Regions from separate parts of the Homo sapiens genome. Here regions 1, 3 and 4 are each linked to region 2. Evidence: promoter capture Hi-C in 16 types of primary human blood cells and fetal thymus (Javierre and others, 2016). All regions are on one chromosome and are shown on one strand. The core of a region is centred on a gene start or on the middle of the fragment in contact, and the rest is flanking DNA. Distances in the headings are between cores, read along the strand shown.

Region 1 (5,931 bases), core at 2,547-5,046, 84 kb after region 2:
CAGGCTGCAGAATTAAAAACAAACAAAAAATACGGGCTGTGGGCTGTAATTTGCTGACATCCCCATCCCTCCCCAACACTAGCCTTTTGTATAGTTCCATAAATGATAGCTATTGTCAAAACCAAACAGACCGTGTCTAAAAAGTGATTCCGGAAGGAAACATACTCTGTTGCTAGGAAAGCATGTATACCAATATGATGCTTTTCCCTTTGCCTGAAATTTTACAAACTCAGCAACCATCAATCACATAGTCAGTAGATTTTAGCTTCCCACGGTACATTTTGCACTGATGAAGATAGGCCATTCCTTATGCAACGTCCAGGCAAAGAAAACCTGGACATGCCAAAGGACTCCATGTGAGCTGAGAACAGGACTCAGGCCTCCAATGTTCTTAGAAAGGTGATACTTTAATCAATTCCAGAACAAAAATAATAAACTTTTGCAACAAAAACAAAGCTCCCTACATCTTTTAGGAGGAACTTACATATCATAAATAATTGACTTCTCAATATGCACCCACAACAAATATGAATAGAGAAAAGGAAAAGAAGGAGTTAGAAGAAGAAATTAAGAAAAAGAAAGAGAAGAACATGGAGGAGAAGGAAGAGAGAAGCATAGTATCACACACATGTATTTTTAGAAAGTCTTCGAGTTCAGTTTTCTTAGAGTTCTATTCGGCTCCACCTCATTTGCTTCCTGAACCTGAAAGTGTTTCTAAAAGGAAAGTGTCATCCAGAAGAGTAGCTAACAGGATCCAAGTCTGTCTGCCTTACATCCCCACAGCTACCACCAAAGCACCTTATCTGGAATGTTGTAGTGCCAATCCCGATTCAAGGCAGAAGGGGTTTCAAGACCTCCAGCCTAATACTGTTGGACTCAGTGAGGATTACCCCCCCTTCTGGGCCATCATCAATTTTGTGCCCACATAAATTCTGGCTTGACCTGCTGGCCTGGCTTGAACTCCTGGCCTGTTCTCCACTTGTATCCCAGAGTTCAGGTAATCAAATCTCTGTAGCTGATCATATTTGAGAAGAGGAAGGGAAATGCCAATCAAAACCACAATGAGATGTCATCTCATTCCAGTTAGAATGGCTACTGTCAAAAAAAACAAGAAGAAGAAATGTCTACCCTTCCCCAGCTCACCGCCAGTAGGAAACCTTCCAAAGCCCATTTCCCATCCCCAGTCTGGGCTAGATGCCACTCCTGTGCACCTGACATACCCCTAGGAACTCTATCGCTGTTCTGTAACTCTGCTTATTTGCCTTCCCCAATGGACCAAGACATTCTTGAAGGCAGAAAATCTTTCTCATTTATTTTTATTACCTACAGTGTCTAGCATAGTGTTTCTTAGATTAATTAATTAGACCTACTGCTCGTCTTGTCAGGACTATTTGCTGTGGCCTATAGCTACGCCAAACAATGTTCTAAACAGAATGTTCTACTTAGCCAGGTCTCCTCTGGGCACCAGTTGGGGGAGAGGGACCTCATTCAAAATCCTATTTCCTCTAGTCTTCCCTGTCTAGGTATACCAACCTGCCCATCCATGCCACAAGATATAACACAAGATATTGCATTCACTTCCAGGATAATTGATTCCAAGATAACGCATTCACATGGCAATGAGCCTTAGGAATGTTGATCAAAGAAGGGCTTAGTTGTAGGAGTTCACTGGTTGTGACTCCTACCACTCAAATGTCTGGCTCCTACCAAAATCCCCAGTTGAAAGAGATGTTATCATTGAGCAGAACATCCATCAAGCTTCCCTTTGGGCAGTATTCCATCACAATAACCACATCTGGCAGTGCAATACAGCCTCCAGTGAATCTGCAGATGTTTGGATGATCTAATTCTCTAGAAAAACCAATACAGATTAGAAAGGATTTCTCTGGGACATGATCTCCTAATTCCCACTTTAAAATCTGACCTAGTTTTTCTGACCACATAAAGAAACAAATATCCCCCTGGATTTAGTGTTGTGCAAAAATAAAGCTTGCAAATCCACCCACTGTGATGCAGGGTAAAGCACTTAGAAAAAAACATAATCGTCATCAAAATTCATTCTGGGCCAGAACTTTACATTCAATATCTGTAATTTGTGCAACAACCCTGACTGGTGGCTATAACTGTCCTCACTCTAAGTGAGGAAACCAAGGCTCAGAGAAGTGACGTAACTTAGCCAAGGTCCCCCTGATAGGTAATGGAGCTAGATCCTAAACCTAACTTGGCCTAATTCCCAAATTCATTCACGGTGTTTTTCAATCATTGCCATAGTGCATTCCAATATAAAATACAAATACAAAAAGAAGAGTTCTTACACTGGGAGAGTTGAATTTTCTTCACAAATAATATTGTTTCAGAAACAAAAGGCAATTTTCACAAGCCAAGTAGTCACAGACTTTTCAGTCTCTCCACGCCAACCTCTCATATGTTTGTTTTTCTTTAAGTTGGATTCACCCAACCCCCACCCCAGGGAAAGAGTAGGCTCCCTAAATCCCAGGCTTGCAGCTGGCATTTCAGCGTGGTCATTACTACATCTGCACCATCAGCACAGAGGCACAGGTGCTGCCTTGCATAAACCAAAGATTGATTTGCAGGTTATCCATGAGGAGCTTTCCAGTCATAACATTTTTCTCCAATCAAGATTCCAGTATCCTTTATGCAAGTACACAGGCAGTAGGGGAGGGAAAATATCTACTGTCTTTTCAGCTTAAGTTTGCTTCCCCAATCATCACATCTCGAATTACTTCGCAAGACATTCTCCAAGGAATAGCACAATAGCAGTACTTTTCAGAACTGATGCCAGGGAGGGGAGGAATGTTTATGCTTGTAGTAAGTCCCAGCTGGTAGATGAAGGGCCTTTTCCCCACTCTTCAGAGTGGAATTCTCTGGTATCTCCTACCCCTTACTCACTTCCCACCAAGGAAAGGAATCATCGGTGAGTGGGAGTTCACACTCACTATGTCACCATTACTGGTGGGCGGCATCACTGTGGTAAAGACCATCTCTTCCATTACTGCTCCCACATGGTAAGCACCACTGGGCAGTTCCTCCTCTGTGGGAAGAGCTGCTGTTCTTGTTCTACCTACAACTGGGGTGGGTGAGGTAGGCCCATAGTCCTGGTGTGTAGGTGGTCAGATAAGTGACTTTATGTCTGCTCTGCAGGCCAAGCTGCTCACATGCCCACTCGCTCGTCTGGCTGAGCATGTGGGTCTAATGACTCAGATGTGGTCTCTGTGGTAGAAGCATGCACTTCAGCATCTGGCTCTCCAATCCAGCTTTTAGCAGAATTTGCTTTGAATATCAGGGACTTGATACTGAGGACAAGTGTTACTTTCTTCTCTTGCTATTATTCCTTATGTGTTCTTCCCATTGGTCAGAAGCAGAAAGGGAAGAAGAGATGAATAGCAACCTGAACATTTAACAACTGAGAGCTCTTGCAAACCAGGCTCTGAAAATATTCTCTATCAACATTAGAATGGCACCAAGTCAAGGGCACATGAGGAAACCCCTCCCAACTGCAGGATGAGATGTCTGAAATACCTGACGTAGAGCATATTAAGAGAACAATTATCTGTGTCCAGCTTTATCATCTATAATATATGTTTTATACACTCATCAAGCAAAGATGCTTTAGTTTGCTGAACCCAGTGAATCACAGAGACTTTTGCAAATGTGAAGAAATAGTATGTAGCTGCAGGATACTGCAGGCTCCTTTGCTAACTGGAAGATTAGTTGCTGTATTTTGCAAAACCCCAAACTTCAACCCAACCCATTCTCTCTTAACCAAGATAAACTGCCGTCAACCCAGCATCTTCCTCTTCCATTCCCTACCCATTTCTATTTAGAGAAGAAAGAACTGAAAACTGATATTAATATATTGCTGTATGAGTGTTTTGGAATAAGAGAGGAGGAAATAGGCCTACTCCCCTTCTCTCTTCCCTCTCCTGAATCTAAAGCCAACCTGATGCAATAGGGAAGAGTGGTGGGAGCAGAAAGAAGCTGAACCTCGGTGGGGAAGTGCAATTGTGATTTCCTCTAATAGGTAAGTTTTTGGCATAATCTGTGCACAAAATAAGGCCTTAGACTGTAAGAGAATAATTACTTTTTCTAATAAAAGCCATTGTTCTTTTGCTGCAATCAACTTTCAAGTTCTCTAAACATTTGTGATATTAATTCTATCAAGCTCTAATCCTTTGGCCATCACTCGTCTTCTTGTTCTTAAGAAGAACCTCTACTTATCCTTTGCCATGATGGGTTAAATATAAAATAAGATATAATAAAGTAAATGAAAAGCAAGGAAAACTATTAGGTTTGTACTTGTGTACCAACTCTGAGAGATGATTGGAGATGACTGAAGCACTGTGTTGGGAAGGATTCTGAGGCCAGATCTGTACTCAGAGGAAAGGTACTAATATTAGAGCGGTCCATGGGCATGAGCAATGCACACATTGTCCATCCTTGAAAGATTTAGAGTCTTACTCTTGAGTCCAAAAGGCCAGTTCACAAGGACATCAGTATGGAAGGTTGGTGTTGCAATAATACATATGAAGATTTGGAGTTTGGACCAACTACAGGCTCAATATGAGCCAGCAACATGAGAGCATTGCCAGAGATGGCAGCATGGGTGGAGGCATGTTGTCCAAGGCTAGGGAAGCACGATCTGCCCTGTACTGGCAGGATTGTGGCAGGAGTGTTGGGTTTCATTCTAGATGCATGCTTGGAGAGAACTGTTAGTCAACAGCTAGAGAGCAGTGCACTCGATAAAGGGCTTTTGAATCTATGTTTCATGGAGAAAAACAAGGATGTTCAAACTGAAGAGAAAACTTTCAGGGAATCCAGATACCCACCCTTCTTGGTAATACCTGTTGCCCCCAAGGTGAGCTTCCCAGATTCTTAGCAACCACTAACTTATCTAATGAGGTAACCCACAGAAGCTCTCCAGTGCATTTACCTGCCTGCCACTATCCTGGTGGGCCTGCTGCACCCAGATGTCAAGCTGGTAGGCTGGGATCAATTAGCAATTGTAATTAAAACTGAATGTAATTAACCACATAACAGTGAGATGTTCTTGATTAATTTCCTGAAGTTAAGAGACTACTATAATGTTCTGACAGAAGACAATAAATAATTCAAAAACTCCTAAATTTGGTTATGCATTTGAGTTTCATCCAAATAATTGTTCACCAAGCCATTGTTACTGAATAAAAATGCATTGGCCCACACACATAGGTTAACAATCTTAATTAATGATCTTGTGGCCCACTACCAAAAGGCTTGAATGCCCCTGCTGACTTTAAGTGCTTAGAAAATAGATAGCTGATGGCTGTACAACCATGTAAATGTGCTTAACACCACTGAACTGTGGACTTAAAAACGGCTAAAATGGTAAATGTTATGTCATGTATATTTTACCACAAAAAAAAAAAATGTTCAGGCCAAGAACAATAGTTCATATCTGAATCCCAGCACTTTGGGAGGTCGGGGCCGGAGGACTGCTTGAGGTCAGGAGCTCGAGACCAGCCTGGGCAATAGAGTGACACCTTGTCTCTAACTTAGAAAAATAAACAAAGTTTTTAAAAATAGCACAGTGCAGTGGTATGAGTACAAGCTTTTGGGTCAAGCAGAGAGGTACTCAAATTATGACTGGGCTACTTATCGGCTCTGTGACCTCAAGCAAGTTGCTGAATCTCTCTGAATCCATTTCTTTATCTGCAGAATGGGAGTAATAATGCCTACCAGTCTAATTAGGTGGGTAGCCAGAAGTAAGGAATACAACTGATACATAGAAAGCATCCAGTGGGTAACATGGCAGCCGAGGATAGGTCAGACTCAGCATAAAGACCAGTGGGGAGAAGTTACAGGAAGACCTACTAGCGTTCATGATAAGGAAAACTTGCTAACTTAGATCAGTCTAACAATAGAAGAGGCACC
Region 2 (5,676 bases), core at 1,963-4,462:
TTAAATACTAAGAACACCTTATCTGTCTCTGAGTATTGTGACCCTGAGTGATGTCTCCAATCCCTACCCACTGTTGCTGCTGACTTGGGCAAGTATACCTGCTGTTCAAAGACCATCTGAAATTACCTCTAAGAAGGAATTGCTTTGAAAATGAAGCTTATAATTAAACAGCAATTGAAGTTTCCTGTGGTTTTATGCCCGGGTCTTATCTAATGCCTAAGTAGATAAACTGCATGGCTTAAAAATCAGAAAAGAACTGGATGTTTGTACAAGTGACAGGAGGTCTCCACTCAGCAATCTTGCTTCTTTAGGACCCAACTTTATTTCCAGCACTATTGTCAAAACACGTCCACAACACTGACATCAGCTCAGCCCTGCAGAAGTAACTACAAGAGAACCAAGGAACATTAGAGCTAAAATGAATCTTACCTAGCACCTCATTCAAAGTCTTTGTTTCATTAAGAAGTTGAAACACAGGAAGGTAAAGTTATTTTCCTAGGGTCACCACCATAAGAGGGGATAATCAAAGGACTTAGGAGGTAAAACTATAATGACTTGGGTGACTTACTGGACGTAGGCTGTTAGGGAGAGAAAGGAGTAGAGAACAATTGCAAATATTCTCAGTTGGCAAATGGAAGGAATGATGAGGTTGGGTTTGGAACATAATCCCAAAGGACACAATCCCAAACCCCACAATCCCTAATGTTGAAATCCCCATAGATCAAAATCACTAAAGTCTAAATCCCTGAAGTCTAAAGTCCCTAGCAAGTGTGAGGTGTCTGCATACCATCCAGATTAGAGATATCAAGCAGACAGTTGGATATTATAGATTTGGGGCTGAGGGAAAATGACAAAGCTAAAGAGAGAGTTTTGGGAGTCATCAGCCTATTCAGGCTGTTCGAGGCTATTACAGAATGAGAAGAAAGAGAAGAGAAATCAAGAAAGGGGAGAAGCAAGAATAGAACCCACAGAACATCAGTATCTAAGGGGTTTGTTAAAATAAAAAATAAATAAAATAGGAGTTTATAAAGTAGCCTACAAATAAGTGACCAGGGAGATAGGAAGAAAACTAGGATAGAATGGTGTCAGTAAAAGAAACGGTTTTAAGAAGGGAAAACTTTTCAATAATTGTAACACACGTAGCGAGCTGCTTCCCCAGTATTTAAAAGGAGCAGTATGCTGCTCCTTTTAAACAAAACCCTTTTTTCAGACCATCAGTGGATCTGGTAAATAAATAAACAACAATTTCCCAGGTACCTTTGTATCCCAAAGCTCATCCATCTCTGGTCAATTACAGGCAGATGCCTATCTACTTGGGGGGGCTGCCAGGAAAATTATTATTGTCCTCATACAAGTGGCCAAAGAACTGGCACCTCACTTTTACCCTTTGCATTTTCTCCTTTCTTCCCTCCTAAATGATTCTATGCCTAAAGGTGCAGCAGCTGTCTAATGGTCATGAGTACAAAAGATACAAAATAGATGATGGAGAGGAAAATGAGAAGGATCTGCTTCCTGATCCACCCCTTTGAAAGTGAGAAAGTTGGGAGTTGACCTTGGCTCCTCCCTTCATCTCACTTCACTGTGCTCCAAGACACTTCACTCAACCCTTAAATACCCTCAGATCTGCTTCCTTCCAACTCCTCTACCAGCCCGACATTGTTAAGGCCACATCATGTCTTGCCCGGCTTACTGAACTTCTCAGCTTACTGAACAAGACTCCCGGCTTCCAGACTTACCAGCTCCAACCTATGCTCTCACCTGCCGCCCCTTTCAGTCAAACTGGAATGTTTTTGTATTGATCTTTGCTTAAAATACATCAAGCGTTCTTCATTGCCTAGTGGATAAAAAGTCCTTAGTCTCACAGCCTTTATGATTTGTTTGGCTCCTGTCATACATGATGAAGACACTAATTATGATGACAAATATATATACATATACATGTGTACGTGTGTGCATGTGTGTGTAATTTTTGTACACAGACTATGTACCAAGCATTGTGCTAGGAACTTTACGTTTATTTAATCCTCACAATGTTTCCTCATATATTTGGTATTAATCTCATTTTACAGATAGGACGACTGATTCTCAGAGAGGTTAAGTCACTTGCCCAGGAATATACAGCTAGTTTAACTGGGGAAGGCCTGGATGTGAAAATTCTTTCCAGTAAATCAGTGTCTTGACATGAAAGCATGTACCGCTCATCAACCTGTTCTCCACCGCCCTCCTCTATCCTAAATGGGCAGCCCTGTTGAAGAATCACAGCCAAAGCCAGTCTTGCCCCCCGGGGCCAGAGGAATCCATCTGCCCCTGCCTACCAGAGCGGGAGGAACGCAGGCTCTCAATGCCTGCTTCAGCAAGGGAGGAGAGAATCGCCCAGAGCTGAGCGGCGTCGTAGGGTGGTGGTCCTGACCGGTCAAGGCCCCTTCTCCTCGTGAACTGGGGGCCAGGGAGCCCTTCTCCCTGTCCCCCCGGCACCACAGCGCTGTAGAAGTGAAATCCCGGCTCCAAGGTCACCCTCTCCCGAGCCTGGAGCTGGAAAGCCACGGGGACTCCGGGGACTCCCCCAAGGCCCGGACTAGCCTGGCACCCACCCCTCACCACTAACCCACTCCGCCTGGGCGCTGGTTCTGTGCGCTCCCGCGGCGCAGTCGCTCCGCTGCAAGAGCGCTTTCGCGCGCCGCCACCGCCCAGAGCCGGGACCAAAGCAGTCCTCGGGCACCGGCTCCCCGAGGGACACACACCCCCCCGCGCCCCGAGTCGAGGGGTTGAGAGAAGGGCGGTCGGGGAGCCCCTGGGCCTGCCGTCAGTCACCCGGATTTGTAACTGGAGAAGGGTGCGGGTCCCGGAGGGACATCTCCAGCTGGCACCTAACTCCTCGGATCCCGGACTGGGAGCCCGAGCTCGGATATTGCAACGGCTGCCCCGTGGGCAAACCGACCCTGGTTTCCGACTCCGGCCACTGGCAGCCTCGCGCCCCAGACCCTTCCCGGGCACGGAAGCGGGTCAGGTCGCCCTGCTCAGCCTCCGGAACGGCGGCGGCACAAACCCCGGCCGCTCCCAGCAGCCCCGACGAGACCCCGGGCAGCGCCTGCCGCCGGGTGGCCTCCCTCTGGGGCTGACCCCCTCGCGCCCCCGCGCGTCTGTCTGCGTTTCTGAGCCTGCTCTGACAGTGATGTAACAAGGCCAGGCTCGCGCCGCGTCCCCTCTTTCCCAGACTCAGTGCTCCCTCCTCCTCCCGCGCCCCGCGCTCTGCGCGCTGAGCTGGCGCCGGGCTCCGCTTGCACAGCACCGGGACCGACGGGCACTGCTGGGAGAGCCGCTCTCCCAGGTTCCACCTCCCCGATGCAGAGTCCGTGGGGGAAACCAGGCTTTCCTCCCAGAACCAAGGGAGCGAGCCGAGGGGGCAGCTGCTGTGGGGGCTTCTGAGGAGACAGCCTGGCTTCTTTCCCTACTTCCTGGAGAGGGCAGGAAACCTCAGGTACCTCGTTGACCCCAGCCGGAGCGTGTTGATATGAGAGAGAGACGGAGGTTGCAATAGTGAGAGGAAGAGAGGGAGGGCACAAGAAAGGGAGGGAGGGAGAGGGGACGGAGAGAAAGAGTAGAAATAGAAACAGGGAGAGATTGCAAGAGAAACGCAGAGAGAGAGATAGAGAGATTGCAAGAGAGATACAGAGACAGAGATCAAGACTGAAAGTCAAGAAGCAAGTCGGAGACAAAGGGCAAGAGAAAGACAAGAGTTGATGGGTGGGAGCTTGACTTGGATTTTTTTTTAACGCACTGTGGTTTCATCTCTGACAGAATAGAGGAACGCTGCTCCCTGGTCAGCAAGCAGCCCCCAACCTGGATGGAGTGAAACATGCGGCCTGATGACATTAACCCGAGGACTGGGCTGGTGGTGGCCCTGGTCAGTGTCTTCCTCGTCTTTGGTTTCATGTTCACCGTCTCTGGGATGAAAGGGGAGACTTTGGGAAACATCCCCCTCCTGGCCATCGGGCCAGCCATCTGCCTACCAGGCATCGCAGCCATTGCCCTGGCCAGGAAAACCGAGGGATGCACCAAGTGGCCAGAGAACGAGCTGCTGTGGGTCCGCAAATTGCCCTGCTTCCGGAAACCCAAAGACAAGGAGGTGGTAGAGCTGCTGAGGACCCCTTCAGACCTAGAATCCGGCAAGGGGAGCTCAGATGAGCTGGCTAAGAAGGCGGGCCTCAGGGGGAAGCCTCCCCCACAAAGCCAGGGTGAGGTGTCCGTGGCCAGCTCCATCAACAGCCCCACACCCACGGAGGAAGGAGAATGCCAGAGCCTCGTCCAGAATGGGCATCAGGAGGAGACGTCCAGATACCTGGACGGCTACTGCCCCTCGGGCAGTTCCCTCACCTACAGTGCCTTGGACGTCAAGTGCTCAGCAAGGGACAGATCTGAGTGCCCTGAGCCTGAGGATAGCATCTTCTTTGTGCCCCAGGACAGTATCATCGTTTGCTCCTACAAGCAGAACAGCCCGTATGACAGATACTGTTGTTATATCAATCAGATACAAGGCAGGTGGGACCACGAGACCATCGTCTAATCTCTGCCTACAAAGGTGGCTGGATTGATAGAATATGACTAAGCCCAGCTCCCCGTGGAAGCAAATTGCTCTGCTTGGAGAGCCTTCACACTGTTAGAAATTGACCTGGTATGTGATGGGTGTGATAACCTCTGGTACCCGAGAGTCATGTAAATAGGCATGTTGGGGACACATTTTAGGGAAGGGCGATGAGGGTTAAGGACACTGGAAGAGGCAGTGGGTAGGAAAGGAAGCTACTCCAGTTGCTTCTTAACAATTTACACAATGTTAAATGTTTTGTAAAATAACCCAAAAAGTGCTATCCAGAACCAGCTGAGAGCAAGATAAATCTAGAGTGGGCTGCAGATGTGAGGCATCAAATGATGCATGAGCTGACCACAGGGAAACTGAGCTGCTTTATGTTTGAATAAGTTGAAAATAAAATTAATGATCCGTTATATAAAGTAATTTTTGCCTGGTTAAAAGCTTATCACACTTGGTATTTGCTGAAAGAAAAAAAAATCAAGATACAAGAGTTAAACCCTCCTTAGATGGGATGGTTTTTGGGAAAAGGGTAGTTAAAGAGAGTTGGATTATGTAACTGAGTCTTGTGGCATTATTGTCTGACAAGATCATGGTCTCTAATAAAGTAAAATAAGTGTGAGCAGCTATGTGAAAAGTTAACATTTTTAGATGGCTATGTTACTTCTTAAACTCTTCGTTTAAATCCATTTATTGCATCTTTATCTGAAATGGGTTTTTTCTAAACATTTACTATCATTCATGTATTATTTCCTTACCAGGTGCAACATTATTTGAAATGATACTTTCATAGATTGGAATTTGTTTTCATCAAGACAAAATGAATTTTACATATATATCCAAGTCTTTAACATTGGCAGACATGTACTGATAATTACCATTCCTACATACCTTTTAAAATCTGAAAACTATAAAGTCTACACATTAGCCTTGAACATTGCACATAATTTGTATGAAATGCAATGGTTAAACCTTTGGAAGTGTCATTATTTGTACATTTGTTCAACTCCTCTCACAGACTGTAAATGCCAGTGAAACAAGAACTCATCTACTAAATTTAACTGAAGCCTAGATTTTATTAAGCTCACCTG
Region 3 (5,601 bases), core at 3,020-5,519, 100 kb before region 2:
CATCTCCACAAATGGGATTCTTAATTCTCCACAAATGGGACTGTAATCCATTACCTATAATTCCATTTGCATTTTCACCTAACCTCCACACTTGCTAAACACTTATTTTAGCAAAATGAGGCACAACAAATAAAATATTTGCTTTTCTACCAAATTATGTTTAAATAATGCACACATTTAATTCTTAACATCTCTTCCAAAAGTACAGCTGAAGCAGCCTTAGATGGAATGGAAGTGACTAGTACTTCATTTATGTGCAATGCACCTCCAACCCATATGTATCTAACTAGGTTTCAGGCTCAGCTTCCAATCTAGGTCATGAAGGTATGCACAGCCTCCCTAACTTTCCCCATCATCCCATGGGTCCACTTTGTTACCATTAGTCACCTGTCATGCGGGTTCTATTGATGTGATCTGTCCTCCTCAGCTTTATAGGTTACATTTTTTCCTATAATCGACTTAAATTTAGGGGAAAGGAAAAGTCAGAGGAAGCAGGTATATTGAAAGCTTGCTTATCTTTACAGCAGCTGCTGAAACAGCTGAAATAGAAAACACTAGCTTCTTTCTCAAGAGCTTTTATTTAAAATAATAATAATAATATCACTGTACATATAAAATAGTGAAAGCATTAGAAATATGATACTCTTAAGACCTGATCTACATTTTCCTAGTTCAATGAAAAGAGAATGGGATTATCATATGGAAGAGAGCCAAAGGCACAGATAATACAAAATAACAAATTTAAGTTACCAAACATAGACACTTTCACTTGTAATACATTTTGGGGTTTTTTGGTTGTTGTAGTTGCTTTTTTATGAAAAGAGTTAACAATTTTATTTTCACATTTCACAATACAAATAAAAACTACTTTTTTTTGGTCCCACTTCTCCCCTCCAAAACTATTCTCTCTTTGATAAGAAAAGAGAGAAAGTCTTCCTTATCGCGCTGTTAAGAAAACACCCAGAGTCACAGCACCATGGTCTCCTAGTGAAGTAGAACAAGTAATATAAACCTGATACACAAGGCCTCTGCACTATCCTTAACCATCTGGTCAAGTCATTCTAGGCCAAGCAGGCACCATCATGGGACAGGCGGGAGGCCTTATCATTGACATGTGACCTCCCATGAGTGGCTTCATTCCAGGAGCAAGTCCCACTGGCATCATCCCACGGAAAGGAGGGCCCATCATTGGCATCATGGGAGGGCTCGCATATGGGGTGCTGGCATTATACTTGGGCAAAGAGGACCTGGAAGGCTGGGGGGAGGGGGTATCATTGCCCCTGCAGAGGAGGAGCAGAGAATAGAGTAGGAGGTATCTTTCCTGGATGAAATGCAGCCATTGTTTAGTCAATCAGGGTCTGACTGTTCTTCTCTCCATTTTTGGTAGTAGTCTTTCACATTCTCTTTGTGTTTCCTACCACTGAAGTGGGCCTTTCTCACAGATGGCAAGTCATGGGAGAGCTACATATTGTAGTAGACACAATAAGACTTGGGCATGTTGCTCTGAAGGAGGTTGGCCACTCCATTCCACAACGCCTGGAGATGACCTTGTAATACATTTTTCAAACTTACAGTATAACATGGAAATAGTGGTAAAATGTTTTGGAAAAAAAAACCACAACATTTTATTCCAGGAATTCTCTGACCATACTATCCTGTCTTTCTAGAACTTTTCATCCCTACTCTGATTATACCTGTTCTTTGATCTTCATAAGATCTTCAGCAAATTGTATACTTCATTTTACCCTAGTCTTCTGTTTTGTATCATCCTTTCCTGTTTCATTTTCTTCCCTTTCCTGCCCAGGTCCCATTCTTATCACTTCAACTACTTTCTACCGAGAAAACCCAGCTTCCTTATCTCTTTTACCCCCTTCTATTAAACCTGTCTTATAAATCTCCAACCCTGGATTAACCCAAACATATCCATCTTCTTCCATGCTACCCACTGGTAGCCAAGTGTCAGAGAAATACACACAGCTAGGTGGACTGGTGCTACTACTATACATTTAGGATTTCCAGTCTCATCTGGGTCCTCAGTGCTTCTAGCCATCTGTATCTGTGTCTCTGGTCAGTTACCCTTTTCCCCTCTTCTCCATGATAGGTCCAAACTTTTGCCATTCTTCTCATGCTCCCTAGCCTATCCTAAGTACCCCTACTTTCTTTAACTGATAAAACTGAGATGACCAGGGATGAGCTTCCTCAGTTCCCACTCCCCACTCACAAGCTTATCTGCATCTCTGTTTTCCTTCCCGGGTGTCTTGGAGGACGAATGTGTCAAGGCCAGTGTCACCACTGTTCTTGTGTCACCGCTCTTGAATTTACTCTTCGCCATATCCATCCAGGAATTTGTTCCATCAATGATTCATTTGCTCTCCTGTTTCTTCAACTTTCCCCTCCTTCTGGTTTCTTCTCATCATATTCAAGTCTCTTTAAATCTAAAAAATTACAGGTAAAACTCTCACCATTCTACATTCCTCTTTTAGCTATCACTCCAATTTGTCTTCTTTTTATCTGGGCTTCTGGAGAGGTCCTCCATCAGATATGACTTTCCTTCTGCCTCTTCAAATTCACAGAAACTGCTTGTCCTAAGGTCATCAATGACTTCCTCATTGTTTAACCCAGGGAATAGTTTGTTCTTTCTTAGTTGACTCCTCTGAGATACTTGGCATCATTGCTCTCCTTTTTGAAACCCTCTTCTTTAACTCCCAGTGGTGCATAGGCTGTAGGTTTACTGATAGCTCCCAAATCCTATCTCTAGCCCAACCCACTCCTTCAGACCCTCATATTGAACTGCACACCAAATTGCCCACCTGGATCCAAATGCAACATATCCATAATGGGACCCATTTATATATCCCCAAGTTTCTTCCATTCGTGGGCCTCAGTTACCAAATCAGAAGCCTGGGAGTCATCTTTAACTTCTCCCCTCACCTCCACCCTTATAGCGAATGGTTGCCAAGTATTTTCTACTCTACTTAATAAGAAGGCCTCACATCTAACTTAGACATTCAAAGAATCAACTGACTATTCTGCTTCCCATCTCACCCCAGCAAAATCTCCTGTGGAGATTGGAATTCTGTGGTTTTCTCATTCTGCTCTTCATATGTAACATCCATTCACTGAATGAAAACACCTGACTTGGGAGGAGTGACCCCAGCTGCAGTGAAGGGTGCCAAGTATCAAGCTGATTTCTTTTCTAAGTATTTGTGTTGAGAAAACAGGGTTTTGCAAGCCATAATCATCTTGAATTATGCATTGTTGAGCTGCTTTAAGCATAAAAGCAAAAGAAATAAATGTGTAATAATATTCAGGGTAAAGTTGGGCCATGAAAATCATCACAGTGAAGTCATTTGTGGGGCCTTGCCAGGTTCTTCTCATAAGGATGAATCTCACTAGTTCCCTTTGAAATGCAGGGGCTTGGAGTTCTGAACCACAATCCTATCTTTGTGCTCCAAGTTAAAACACATGAAAATAAACCAGAGGACAGGAGTGTGCCTGCCACCTCCTCAGCAGCCCTTCTGGCACACACGGGTAGACGATCACGTATAGATGCATCTACATGGGTAGATCCATCACCACAGCCCTACTTGATGTCATCACAAGGCATGTTCCAAGACCCATCTGGAAGGTGTTTCAGAAGAGAAAAAGCCTAGAAGACTTCAACATTTATAAAACAGCCCATGTTAATCAGACTCAATTTTATGTCAGAAAAATTTTTAAAGGAGCAAAAATGAACTAAATACTATCCAAGATTCTTTCCAGCTGAAGAAAAGTCTACAATCCCTTTAAGTCACTGGTTCTTAACTTTGGTGGCAGTGGAGGTGAAGGAGGTGTTGCAGACTCCTTTGAGAAATCAATGGAGGATATGGATTCAGTTTTCAAAAAATGCTTACACATACCCCACCCACACCCCCCAACCACAAACTTTTATGTACAATTTCAAGGATTTCATGCATCCCAGTTTAAGACCTCATGTCTCCATTTCGGCACTGACTACACATGAACTTGAATGTGACTGAAACATTTTTTGTAATCACAAAAATATAAGATTTCCACTTAGCGCCCCTGAAAATCACCTAGGTTTCTAACCTGTTCCTCTTCCATTTCCTAAGGGTTCTTACTATGGACTTCCCTGGGTGGTGGTGGCAGGGGGGCTATTTCTCAGCTCAGCAGAGAATGCTGTTTCATAGTTAAGCCAGTGTTTCTCAAACAAAAGCCTTTGGAAGAACTTGGACTCATTCCATCTCCAGGCCCATGGCTTCTGGACTGGCTGTGCTAGGAAGGGTAGGCCAAATTTTAGCTGTCCCCAGTAGACTTTCCTCTCCACTGGGCTGAGAGTATTATCAAAGAGACCCCAGATTTAGAAGCCAGGCTGGAAGTGGGTAGAATGGTTCAAGCTGCTCCTTTTCTGAAGAGACGTAACTTGGTCTGGCTTGTCTACAGGTTTGAGTCAGGGATGATGGGTGCCTGAGAGGAGGGGAGAGTGGAAGCCATTAAGACAAGGAAACTTTTAAGGGCTTTGGTGGTGCTGGCAGTTGGCATGAGTGGGACACGTGGAACTGGAGCTTGTATTAAGAAGTTAAAGCTGGAGTAAAATGTTTCCCACACTTAAATGTTCTCAGTGCTCAGATCAGTCCACCTGTCTGAAGCCGCCGGAGAGTGTCTGGGGCAGCATTATTCTTGCTGCTTTATTACTATCATTGCCATGTGGCCTCTAATCTCTGTTATTAAGAACAACTTTGTTTTACCCAGATTCTTCACTTTCTAGAAACTCTCACTTCATGATTACTTAATGGGCATTTACTTACCACTTTCATTTTCCTACAATTTGAGGGCTTTTTCAAGAATTTCAAAAAAGGGTCAAAATTTCTGATTCCCTTCTAACTGGAAGTCTTGAGAAAATATCTTGCATGCCATAACAATTAAATAAACATGTTTCAATTTCTCCAGTTGATGAAAAAGTCCAATTTTGTTTCATATTACTTCTGCAGAATTACAGAAAATGAAATGTTGGCAGAATTCCATGGGAAAAAATAAGGATTTTAGCAGTTTTGCCTAATTCAATTACATCATTACTTCCCAAACTCACCAGTTGTTATACCATATTGCAAAATGTCACCAGTACTTTCCCAGTTTCATATATTATGGAGAAAAGAGAATTTTATTATGTGCCTGTACAGAAAGTGGAAGAGGAGTTTGTACAAGAGAAGTGTCACATGACAGTGACTGCGTGCACTTGCCTCCTACAAATTCTGATAGGTGCAGAGAAAAGATTTTAACGAAGTTTATTAGTTCATAATTTTTTTAAAGAACAAAATTTGCAATTTTACTTTGCCTTAATGAGTTAACACAATGTGTTCAATGTATTATGTAGAATAATACTCATGAAATAGATGCTTTCTGTGGACTCAAAAATAGAGGCTTTACATTCACAGTTCTGTCTACCTGGAACTCCCCACCATGCACATACACACTTTCTCTCTCTCTGTCTCCTCTCTCTCTCTCTCACACACACACACACACACACACACACACACACACACACCCCTTCACAAATTCATTCCAGGGCATCCTTCATTCTTCACCTGATTGGAAAAGTGA
Region 4 (6,098 bases), core at 3,460-5,959, 120 kb before region 2:
GGGGCCGGGGATCATGCCACACTGCAAACTCCCCCTAGCTCTGGGAACAGATGCTTGCTGGTGACTGCCTGCGGCAGCATACCTAAAAACCAGTGACAGTCTGGGCAGGTTCCCAGCTGCTGAAATTAGCCTGCAGGATCCTTGTAGGCAAAGGCATATTTTAGGACAGCAGTACTGAACAACATCACAGAATGACAAGAACACAGCCCCTTCCACGTTTCTTCAAATGTCCAAATAGCTCGTGCTCATGTTTGACCCTATTTAATAGTTGTTTGTATGGAATGCAAAAATCTGTTTATCTGTATATCAATAAATATCCATGCACATACAGTTCAGAAACTGAATGATAATGACTTTTTAAAAATAAATTTTAATTATAATAAAGCAAATTCTTTTTTTCAGAGGACTGCAACACATTTTAGTTAGCAAATTCATTTGTTGTGGATAATTTCATTAGCTGCTAAGTTCTTCCAGGGGAATCATTTAGCATATTTGGTAATAATAATGACTGGATAATAATGCTTCTTAATGAACTGCCATGAGCAATAAGTATGACTCAATAGCTCAGTATGGTGGAAAGAAATTACTGGTCTAGATCAGGAATATCGAAGGCAGAAGAAAACTTAGAATTTATTTATCCTATGCTACCACCTGTCTTCAGGCATAATTTACAAATCAGGAAGCAGGCTCAGAAATCCATGTCATTTTCAAGGTCACTCAGTGAGTTAAAGGCACAACCAGGGGTTCTGACTTCCAGAGCAGCTCAGTCACATCACTTCACAGTCATGTTCTGCTGTACAACTGTGGCAATAACTGTGAATAGATAACCCCCTCCATCTTTGGGATGGAAATTAGAGGTTATCACAGTTTATATTTACAGGAATAATTCAAAAATATCTGTTGAATAGAAAGTAGAGATGTGTTAGGAATCCAAATTCAGGAGGAACTTACTGAAACCTCAGCATTCCAGACACTAAGCCTCTCATTTCATTTGCATAACAATCCATGAGGTTGATACATTAAGAACTGCCCCATTTCACAGATAAGGAAATGGGGCTTACAGAGGGCATGTGATAACCCAGTCACGCTGTATTAGTCCATTTTCGCACTGCTGATAAAGACATACCCAAGATGGGGAATTTACAAAAGAAAGACGTTTAATGGACTTAACAGTTCCACATGGCTGGAGAAGCCTCACAATAATGGTGGAAGGCAAGAAGGAACCAGTCACAACTTACATGGATGACAGCAGGCAAAGAGCTTGTGCCAGGAAACTCTGCCTTATAAAGCCATTAGATCTCATGAGACTTATTCACTGTCATGAGAACAGCACTGGAAAGACCTGCCTTCATGATTCAGTTACCTCCCACCAGGTCCCTCCCACAACATGTGGGAATTCAAGATGAGATTTGGGTGGAGACACAGCCAAACCATATCATTCTGGCCCTGGCCCCTCCCAAATCTCATGTCCTCACATTTCAAAACCAATCATGCCTTCCCAAGATCACCCCAAAGTCTTAACTCATTTCAGCATTAACTCAAAAGTCCATAGTCCAAAATTTCATCCAAGACAGGGCAAGTCCCTTCCACCTATGGGCCTGTGAAATCAAAAGCAGGTTGGTTACTTCCTAGATACAGTGGGGGTACAGGCATTGGGTAAATACAGCTGTCCCAAATGGCAGAAATTGGCCAAAACAAAGGGGCTGCAGGCTCCATGCAAGTATGAAATCCAGCAGCACAGTCAAATCTTAAAGCTCCAAAATGATCTCCTTTGACTCCATGTCTCATATCCAAGTCATGCTAATGCAAGAGGTGGGTTCCCACAGTCTTGGGCCACTCTGCTCCTGTGGCTTTTCAGGGTACAGCCTCCCTCCTGGCTGCTGTCATGGGCTGGTGTTGTGTCTGTGGCTTTTCCAGGTACACAGTGCAAGCTGTCAATGGATCTACCATTCTGGGGTCTGGAGGACAGCTCCACTAGGTGGTGCCCCAGTAGGGACTTTGTGTGGGGACTCTGACCCAACATTTCCCTTCCACACTGCCCTAGCAGAGGTTCTCCATGAGCACCCCACCCCTGCAGCAAACTTCTGCCTGGTCATCCAGGTGTTTCCATACATCTGAAATCTAGGTGGAGGTTCCCAAACCCTAATTCTTGACTTCTGTGCACTCACAGACTCAACATCATGTGGAAGTTGCCAAGCTCTGAAGCCACAGCCCAAGCTCTTCATTGACCCCTTTCAGCCATGGCTGGAGTGGCTGGGATGCAGTGCACCAAGTCTGTAGGCTGCACACAGCACAGGGACCCTGGGCCTGACCCATTAAACCATTTTTTCCTCCTAGGTCCTCCGGGCCTGTGATGAGAGCGGCTGCCGTGAAGACCTCTGACATGCCCTGGAGACATTTTCCCCATTGTCTTGGGGATTAACATTCAGCTCCTCGTTACTTATGCAAATTTCTGTAGCCAGCTTGAATTTCTCAGAAAATAAGATTTTCTTTCCTATTGCATTGTCAGGCTGCAAATTTTCTTAACTTCTATGCTCTGCTTCCCTTATAAAACTGAATGCCTTTAACAGCACCGAAGTCACCTCTTGAATGCTTTGCTGCTTAGAAATTTCTTCCACCCTAAATCATTTCTCTCAAGTTCAAAGTCCCACAAATCTCTAGGGCAGGGGCAAAATGCTGCAAGTCTCTTTGCTAAAACATAACAAGAGTCACTTCTGCTCCAGTTCCCAACAAGTTCCTCATCTCCATCTGAGACTGCCTCAGCCTGGATTTCATTATCCATATCATTAACAGCATTTTGGTCAAAGCCATTCAACAAGTCTCTAGGAGTTCCAAACTTTTCCACATTTTTCTGTCTTCTTCTGAGCCCTCCAAACTGTTCTAATCTCTGCCTGTTACCCAGTTCCAAAGTTGCTTCCACATTTTTGGGTATCTTTTCAGCAGTGCCCCCACTCTTGTGGTACGAATTTACTGTGTTAGTCTGTTTTCACACTGCTAATAAAGATGTACCCGAGACAGGGCAATTTACTAAAGGAAGAGGTTTAATGAACTTACAGTTCCACATGGCTGGGGAAGCCTCACCATCATGGTGGAAGACAAGGAAGAGCAAATCACGTCTTACATGGATGGCAGCAGGCAAAGAGAGAACCTGTGCAGGGAAACTCCACCTTATAAAGCCATCAGATCACGTGAGACTTATTCACAGGAACAGCACTGAAATACCCACCTTTATGATTCAATTACCTTCCACTGGGTCCCTCCCACAACATATGGGAATTCAACATGAGATTTGGTTGGGGACACAGCCAAACCATATCATACACAGTAAATAATGGAGCTAGGATTTTATGTTGGACTTTGTGACTCCAATATGGGCCCATTCTACTTTTCCACAGCAACAACTTACTAAAGCTTCCATAAGAATCCCCAATGGGGAGAACTAAGAATCTCCTTGGCTCTGTATACATCCAGATACTCTTTTAGGTAAAGATGCAGCATTCAGCTTAGTTGGAGGGAAGTAGAAACCATGGTCCTTACCCTTGAGTAATTATCTTCCTTCTGACTGGTGAACTGAAATTATTCAAAAAGGTCTTGCATAAAGCATGACTTCTGGCATAAAACACATGCTTAAGTAGAATAACAATAAATTACAAATTCAAGCATCTTCCCTACCATTCTGTCTTGGAAAGTTTATTGCTACACAGACAAATCCTCCAATGAGTGCAAGAAAAATATAAACATCAGCTACTGAATTTTATCCATACTGATATTTGGTCATGTGCCAAATGGGTTTGCACTTTAGCATGCAATATTAAAACTTCAGAATCCACCATCCTTGACCTGCACTGGATTCCCCCAAATGCTTGAAGACTCCACTATTCATTGCCACATCAGCTGTGAATTTCTAGCTTGTTGCTAATCTCCTCTCTTTCTCACAAATCAGCTTCTTTTTTAATTTATTTATTGCATCACCTTGCTATGTATACTGGAAACTTTTACATATTTAAAGTTGTAATTTAAGAAACTACAGAGAAGCCAGAAATAGAAGTTTGGGTTTTAAAATTTTTTCTTACAAGAAAGGGTTAGAAGCACACCAACCTAGACAGAAAAAAAGACAGACTCTCCTGCACAGGTCTGGGGAGTTGCTGATATACTGCCCTTGTAAGTTGGCACCCTGGCACCCATGGCATGTAGAGGTAAAGGGTATAGAGTAGATACAATATTGCCCAATTATCCCTCCTTCAAAGACTCTCTTGCCAGAACCAACACCTTACCCACCTGCTTTCTCTTCTTAACTTTCCATTTCCTCAGCCTCTCACTGCATGACGGCTTTGACTTCACCCCCATCCATTGGTACCATGAAAGACCCTCTAGATGCTATACATATTGGCACTTTTCAGTTCTTATCATACTTGACCTTTATGCCACACAGTTTATTGGTCCCACCTTCCCAAAACTCTCCTCTTTAGGGTAAGGCTAATAACTATTGTTGTCATTATAAGTTTGCATTCATAGAGTGCTTATCATTTATAAGGCAGTGTGTTAAGCACTTTGTGTGCATTCTTTCTTTGAACACTTATAAACCCATGATGTAGACATTATTATTATTCCTATATCACAGATGAAGAAATTGAGGCACAACAGGTTAAGTAACTTGTCCAAAATGATACAGCTAGTAAATGGCAGAGCCAGATTTTGAACTCAGATTTTCCTGCCTCCAGAACTCCTATTTGTAAGCATTACACTACATTGCCTCATAATGTTTTCAAGACAGTGACTGTCTTAGTCAGCTGGGCTGCTATAACAAATTACCATAGAGTGAGTGGTTTAGACAAAAGACAGTTATTTATCATAGTTTTGGAAACTGGGAAGTCCAAGATCAAGGTGTAAACACACCCTGAATGTACAGATTTAAGGAGTGTAGCTGGCTGGAGAATAAGGGGTACTCACATAAACACCTTCCAATCAGTGTGTAATTGATGGAGTATAAATAAAAGTGCTTAAAAACCAAAATGGCTCTATTTGTAAATAAAATTTCTATATGCTTTGTTCAAAACTCATAGATTAATTCAAAATCAAAACCAAAATCCAATGTGCAAAAACAAAAAAAGGGACACTTAGGCAAATTTTTGCAAGTTTCTGATGGTTTCGGTCTCCTCTAGGAAAAAAAATTATTTTGGCTATGCCTGGTGCTTGTCTGTATCCTTTAAATCTTCAGGAAAATTCGGTATGGGGTAAGAGCTATGATTCATGTTAGTCTGTGTTTGACTTTCGTGTTAGTATAAAGATTGAAAAAGTGAACTATATTCCTGGAAAGGCTAAAAACAATAATAATATCACTTAGTATGAACCAGGTGCTGTGTTAAGCATGGCAAATCTGATGGAGGTTTAAGGGCCTTGTGGAGAGGTAGGGAGGGGCTCTTGCTGATAGCCAGCCAACCCCCAGAGGCAGAACCACTTAATTAACCTGCAGCTGACCCAGACACAGGAAAGAACCCAGCTGAAATCAAAAGACCTGCCCAACTAACGCCAGCCTAAATTACTGACCCATAGAATCATGAGCTCAATGAAATATTGATACATTAAGCCATGACGTTTTGAGGTTTTGTAGCAGTAATGAACTACTACAATCTTCAACTAAATCACCTTTTTAAAAAAGCTGTGAAATGAGTATGATATGCTAGTAATATATATTTTCTAACATACAACAAAATAAAAATACATTATAACTATTAAATTCTCTTAAAATGTTAAAGAAAAAAGAGAAGATATTATTCCAGGCAAGGCAGATGGTCAAGAGTACATTTGAAAAATAGAGGAAATTTAACTGGGTTTGGAAAATCATGTAGGATGTGACTGTGTAGAGGTCAGTGAGGATAGAAGTATTGGATTAGGGAGAAAAGGATATTCTACAAATATAAAGTGTATTTGGAAGATAGTGGGTAAATCAGCTCGGTTAAGACATAAGTGTTTTGGTTTTATTTCTTTGTGAAGATCTAAACCTGGAAAAAGCTTTTAAGAAAAACTTAAATGTAGGCTAATGCCTTCAGCTGGATACCTAAATAAATAAATAATCCCTGTCACCATCTGTTTTTTCA

What was found. The method cuts DNA at HindIII sites, captures the fragments that hold promoters and counts their contacts. A CHiCAGO score of 5 or more calls a contact.
Region 1: a contact is called between a fragment that was not itself captured here and the fragment with the promoter of TMEM215 in region 2, in 1 of 17 cell types (M2 macrophages). The highest score is 5.4, in M2 macrophages.
Region 3: a fragment that was not itself captured here is called in contact with the fragment with the promoter of TMEM215 in region 2 in 1 of 17 cell types (M2 macrophages); the score reaches 5.8 in M2 macrophages.
Region 4: a fragment that was not itself captured here is called in contact with the fragment with the promoter of TMEM215 in region 2 in 3 of 17 cell types (M2 macrophages, M1 macrophages and M0 macrophages); the score reaches 11.2 in M2 macrophages.

What each region holds. Positions count from the first base shown.
Region 1 is chr9:32,863,353-32,869,283 of GRCh38, forward strand. No RefSeq gene overlaps it. Among named protein-coding and RNA genes, the nearest start is that of TMEM215, 83 kb to the left of the region's middle. The HindIII fragment of the contact is 3,619 bases long and covers 1,988-5,606 here.
Region 2 is chr9:32,780,328-32,786,003 of GRCh38, forward strand. It overlaps TMEM215 (transmembrane protein 215), which reads left to right and starts at 3,213. Exons shown (of 2, transcript NM_212558.3): 1 at 3,213-3,478; 2 at 3,799-5,676. The coding sequence starts at 3,857. The coding sequence ends at 4,564. LOC105376017 (a long non-coding RNA gene) reads right to left here and starts at 2,579. Exons shown (of 7, transcript XR_929559.2): 1 at 2,316-2,579. The HindIII fragment of the contact is 4,873 bases long and covers 155-5,027 here.
Region 3 is chr9:32,675,024-32,680,624 of GRCh38, forward strand. LOC105376017 (a long non-coding RNA gene) reads right to left here. Exons shown (of 7, transcript XR_929559.2): 6 at 5,586-5,601; 7 at 4,264-4,985. It also overlaps the pseudogene SNRPCP1. Among named protein-coding and RNA genes, the nearest start is that of TAF1L, 42 kb to the left of the region's middle. The HindIII fragment of the contact is 4,094 bases long and covers 2,223-5,601 here.
Region 4 is chr9:32,658,488-32,664,585 of GRCh38, forward strand. No RefSeq gene overlaps it. Among named protein-coding and RNA genes, the nearest start is that of TAF1L, 26 kb to the left of the region's middle. The HindIII fragment of the contact is 2,601 bases long and covers 3,410-6,010 here.